Linked DNA regions of Homo sapiens: region 1 is linked to region 2. The links are contacts of gene promoters, found by promoter capture Hi-C in human tissues and cell types (Jung and others, 2019). All regions are on one chromosome and are shown on one strand. Each heading gives the region's core, a stretch centred on a gene start or on the middle of the fragment in contact. The rest is flanking DNA. Distances are from core to core; before and after follow the strand shown.

Region 1 (2,760 bases), core at 168-2,667, 48 kb before region 2:
AAGTCACAATGTATAGGGTCAAATGGATTCCTCCATATCCACCAGGGTCCAAGTCACCAGATCCTGTTAACTTTACTTCTTACTCACTCTCTAGTGTGTGTCCTTTCCGTCTCTCCCTGGCTCCGGTAAATCATGCTGTCATCTCCCATCAGGATTCGAACACAGCCTCCTAACAGGACTCCCTGTCTCCTGACTTGCTGTGCTCTTTCCTACCGATGGTTCAAACTGTAGCAAGGGGGACCATTCGAATTCTGACTACGCCACTCCTCAGAATCTTGAAGTTAACATCCCAGACTCCTCAGCATGACATTTAAGACCACCGATGATCTGGTCTTACCTACCTTTCCAGCATGATTTTCTGCCATTTGCCATTTTTCCTTCTGCCTTCTTCTATGCTCCACACTTACTGAATTACTCAGGTTTAGAGGTTAGCAAACTATGGCCCTGTTTTTGTAAAGTTTCACTAAAACATAGCCACACTCATCTGTTTACCTATTGCCTGTGGCTGCTTTTGTGCTATCATGGTGAAGTTTGGTAATTGTGACAGAGACCATATGACCCCCAAAGTCTAAAAGGTTTGCTATCTGGCCCTTTACAGAAACAGCTGGCTGACTCCTGCTCTAGTTCCCCAATTATGCCATCTTCTTTCTTGCCTCCCAGTCATTGCACCTGCTGTTCTCTTCACCAGAAATACCCTTCCCGACTTTCTCCATTATTTGGCTAAGTCTTGTCTGAATTCTAGATTTAAGTTTAGGAGCCACCTCCATGGGAAGCCTTCCTTAACTTGCCACCTCTAGTCCAGTTAAGGTGCTGCTCCTACACACTTTTCTAATGCCCTGTGCATATCTATACCTGAACACTTTGCAGAATTGTGTTTATTGTTTGCTTGGTGTCTGCTATAGACTCTAAGCCCCTTGCAGGCAGCAACAGTGTCTGCAGGGCCGAAGCATAGAGCTTGACACAAAATAAGCTCTCAAAACATAGTTTCTAAATGATTATATAAATGGATAGCTTGTTGACACTCTGTCCCCAGTTACCTAGAAGTTTATGGAAACTGACACATGCACATGTTTATACATGTCACCGTTTCCTGTATTTCAAGTGCTCAAGTCATATCATAACAGGGACTCTTTGCTAAATAATTTGTCTCCAAGTTTTCTTCTGCTTCCAACTTTTTCTGATGTGAGTTTTGCCGCATGAAAACCTTTCTGCTCCATCTTTCCCTAATCAGGGATATGCTGGTGTTTTGTTTTGTTTTTACTGTGTTCTGGTTCTTTTCCCAGCTTCTTCAGGCTGCCTGAGTACAGATAATTTTCTTAACTCATTTAATGCTCAATTGCTTGAAATTGTATTGAGTCATTTTTTTCTGAGTTTTGTTGTGCGATAAAGAATCCCACATTTTCTAAAACTTTTTATAGTTTTAGAAGAAGACAAAAAGAAGAAAAGTATTAACATATTTTCTTCTCTGGATAACAGCAAAATGTTCCAAGTCTTGTTTGTTTATTTATTTGTTTGTTTTTAAATTGCTGATGAAGACCAATTTCAATTTTCAAGACTTTGATTATGGAATAAATTTGAATATGCCCAGTGGTGTAGAACTCTAAAACAGAAACATTAAGTACATATAGAATAAGCTTCACAAAGAGAAATAAACCAAGATTCATCACTCAGGGGACTTGTGCTAAGCTGAAACTTGAATGAAGAACCAATTTGAAATTCCTTTCAAGGACTGATGGTTCTAGGTAAGATGTGGTGAATAAAGACTGCTTTTCTGAGGAAGATCCAAGTCCAGGTCATTGTGATGACTTTTCTACATGATACCAAAATTGATTTATTAGGATTTACTTTAAGACTTCAAGGGGTCAAGTCTAGCTGTATCAATTCATTCTAGAGAAAAGCAAAGGTTTTTCCAAAATAGTACTCTTTCTTGGTGACAAAGCAATACTTACAGCACTACTGATTTCCAGGAAAACACTTCCAGCCGCAAGGTGTGTCCTTGCCCACAGTAGACTGACAGAAAAGGAGAGCTGGGTTATAAAGGCAGTATAATTGGAACAGAAAATTTTTCTTTTTTTTCTGCACAGAAAATGAATCTCTTTTTCTATACTTTAATGCAAGTGTCCTTATGCATTACTGAATTGTATTCATAAAGCTTTCATGACATGGCAAGGTTTCTTCAGCATTTAGGAGAATTGTATTGAGAGTAATTAATTCATCTGTTCCTGCTAGGTCAGGATACCTTCTCTGAAAATAACAATTTGTTAGTGGGACATTTTCACAGGTTCCTATGAGACATCAGTCTGCATGGATTTGCTCCAGAGAGTCCCAGGAGATAGGGAAGTTCTCACTAAAAGTTTATTCACAAGTCAAGCTGAGGAATTTGTAGTTTTCTAAATTCTAATTGGTATCAATCATTCCTGCACTCCTGAGGTAATTAACCAAAGTCTGAGAATCTTTTAATTTTGTAAGTTTTTAGATCTTGGATTTCTCAGTTCTCCAAGAAGGAAAATTATTGACATCTTAATAAATAAATGGGGTCCTTTAATGAACTGAATTGAATCAAAGGTAGTCAATTTGGTCAATAATATAAAAATGGCCATGTATTCAGAAATGTGAGATTGAACAGAATAAAAATTGCATTCACTCACGCCTGTAATCCCAGCACTTTGGGAGGCCGAGGTGGGTGGATCATGAGGTCAGGAGATCGAGACCATCCTGGCTAACAAGGTGAAACCCCGTCTCTACTAAAAATACAAAAAA
Region 2 (2,967 bases), core at 221-2,720:
GAGGTCTCACTCTGCCACCCAGGATGGAGTGTAGTGGTGCAATCACAGCTCATTGCAGCCTCAACTTCCAGGGCTCAATGAATCCTCCAATCTTGGCCTTCCAAAATGTTGGGATTACAGGTGTGAGCCACTGCACCCAGCCTCCCTTCGTGGTATATGCAAGATACTTCATGGATTGAATTTTCTCCCAGACATGATCAGAGTTTTCCTTCAGTTTGGCATGATCATTGCTCATCCTGGGGCACCATCTCAGTTTCTGGCACACCAAACACCACCATAGTCGTGCAGAAAGAATGTGTTGAAGATAAGAAATGTGTGCCATTGGGGGAGGGCTGGGGGTTGGGGAGAGCATTAGGAAAAAGAACTAATGCATGCTGGGCTTAGTACATGGGTGATGGATTGATAGGTGCAGCAAACCACCATGGCACACGTTTAACTATGTAACAAACCTGCACATCCTGCACATGTACCCTGGAACTTAAAAAAAATAATAAAAAAAGAAATGTATTTAATGTAGTGTATACCAGTGTCAAGTTTTCCTTTGTATCAAGGTCATGATTCTGTTCACTGTCTCTCTCAACACTTCCTGTACCTTCTCATTCCTCAAGCTGTAGATAAAAGGGTTCAGGAGAGGGGTCACCACTGTGATGAGGACAGCGGCCACCTTGTCATAATCCAGTGAGGAGTTCTGATTGGGTCTCACATACACAAAGATGTTGCTCCCGTGGGCAATGGAGACAACAGTGATGTGAGAAGCACAGGTAGAAAAAGCTTTCTGACGGCCCTGGGTGGAGGGGATACGCAGGATGGTAGAAATTATGTACACGTAGGACCCAGTAGTGAATGCCAGGGAGCTCAGGATGACAAGGGCAGAGAGGAGAAAGTTTATCTTCTCAATGAGGTGAGTATTTATACAGGCCACCTGAAGAAGAGGGGCAATGTCACAGAAGAAATGATTAATTTCTTTCCTACAGTAAGGTAGCCTTGTCACTACAATGGTTGGAAACAACACAGACAGGAAGGCTCCCACCCAGCATCCCAGAACCAGCAGAAGGCAGGCCCTGCTGTTCATGATGACCGTGTAGTGCAGTGGGTCGCAGATAGCCATGTAGCGGTCAAAGGACATCACCGCCAAGAGGATAAACTCCACCGTCCCCAGAAAGAAGTAGAAATATGTTTGGATCATGCAACCAGCAAAAGATATGGTTTTCTCTTCTCCTAGGAGGCAGGCCAACAACTTTGGGGTAATGACAGTGGTGTATAAGATATCCAGAAAGGACAAATTACTGAGGAAGAAGTACATTGGAGTTTGCAGGCGATGATCAATCCATATCAGGGAGATGATGGTGATGTTTCCTGTTGCTGTTAATGTGTAAGTTACCACAAGAACCACGAAGAGAGATATTCGAATCTCCAGGAGAGCTGGGAAGGCAATTAGGGTGATTTCAGTCACAGTGCTCCAGTTTCCCATGACAACTACTATATGGTGGGCAGGGTTTCCCTGAAGAAACAAGAAAAGGAAAATCAGCTTAGGTAATTTTGTAAATATCTGCTGAGAATGTATTGCGGAGAGTGGCTTATATTGGGAGATGTAGACCTGGTATGTAGTCCTCTATCTGCAAGTTAATTATTGTGCCACACTGGGAAAGTCAAGATACTATTTAGGTACATGGTTTTTTTTTGTTTGTTTGTTTGTTTTTCCTGTAAAATGACGGAATAAGGCTGGATAAAAAAAACTCAACTTCCTTCTAGTTATAAAATTCTATTCCTTTTCATTGATGAAATTTCTAATCTTTTCTATTCTTTTGGCTTCATTTTCTCAGCTAAAAATGTGCTAATGTACTGATGTATACTTAATCAGAATGCCCTTCTATTATTCTGGTTTACAGTTCCTGAGTGGCAAATCCTTTAGAAACGTAAAGTCTTTTCTATAACAAACTTTCTTTCACTTTGGTGGTTGTCATTTAATAAAGGTTGATTTAGTTTTTTCTACATTTGTAGATATCCAGAGTCTCCGAATTCTTAACATCTTTCCCTAGCATGTATAGATCTGTGAAAACTGTCCAGAGATTATTAAAAGGAACAACAGCTGACGGTTCCTATTAATCATTTTAGATGACACCTCAAAAAGAAATAATGAGTGTCTCGCCCTTAGATTATGCTTTTGTGTCTAAAACCTACCTTCTACAAGTTCTGTGCAGTATCTAATATGTATCATATATCTGGCTGATCATTTGAGAGCACCGTATATAGTGTGATAACATCAGAGAGGCACAAATTATATACAGGAAGGCAACATAGAGGTAATTCACCTCACTTCATTTACTTTGTCAGCCGACATTGTGAAACTGTACTTCAAGATCATCTAGTTTGTTCTTTGTCCCACAATGTGAGAAATGATTATTTTGCAGAGACCTCCCCATTTTAGGTAAAAACCAGCCCATGCTTTAACTCTGACCTTGGTGCTTTATTTATCTAGATATCACTTAGCACCTCCTTAATAAATCCTTAATAGATAAGTTAGCATCTCCTCCACTCTTTGCTACTGATCGTGGCCACCTCTTTTTCTTTTTCCAAACTCCCCCTGCACTTTCCTCCAAGATAAAAAATTTACCCTCTTATTTTATTTTTCTTTTTATTATACAAGAAAGACATTTTTAGTGCAAAGAATTAAAAAATGCAAGTGCAGAAAAGAAAATTATAATCTGTAATCGAACTTCTTAGAGATACAGTGACCTTTTGGTGTATATAGTTTTAGGCTATTTTAAAGTTCAAAGTACATACTTGTGTATCTAAAATAAATCATACTAGGAGACTATTTTGTAATTAGCTTTTTTCCTTTTCCTTTCTTTCTCTTTTCTTTCTTTCTTCCTTTTTCTTAAAACAATTTAGCATCTTTCCATGTCAACTCCTAGAAGTCTTCACAATCATTTTTGAGAATTGTATAGTGTTTGATTCTATCAGTGG

The links. The method cuts DNA at HindIII sites, captures the fragments that hold promoters and counts their contacts. A contact is called where the count stands out against the background at its distance.
Region 1: a fragment that was not itself captured here is called in contact with the fragment with the promoter of OR6M1 in region 2 in 1 of the 25 tissues and cell types used here (pancreas).

Annotation. Positions count from the first base shown.
Region 1 is chr11:123,757,110-123,759,869 of GRCh38, forward strand. No RefSeq gene overlaps it. Among named protein-coding and RNA genes, the nearest start is that of OR6X1, 4.0 kb to the left of the region's middle. The HindIII fragment of the contact is 5,008 bases long and covers 1-2,760 here.
Region 2 is chr11:123,804,879-123,807,845 of GRCh38, forward strand. It overlaps OR6M1 (olfactory receptor family 6 subfamily M member 1), which reads right to left and starts at 1,471. Exons shown (of 1, transcript NM_001005325.1): 1 at 530-1,471. The coding sequence starts at 1,471. The coding sequence ends at 530. The region is part of intron 2 of LOC105369544 (a long non-coding RNA gene); the gene reads left to right. The HindIII fragment of the contact is 10,727 bases long and covers 1-2,967 here.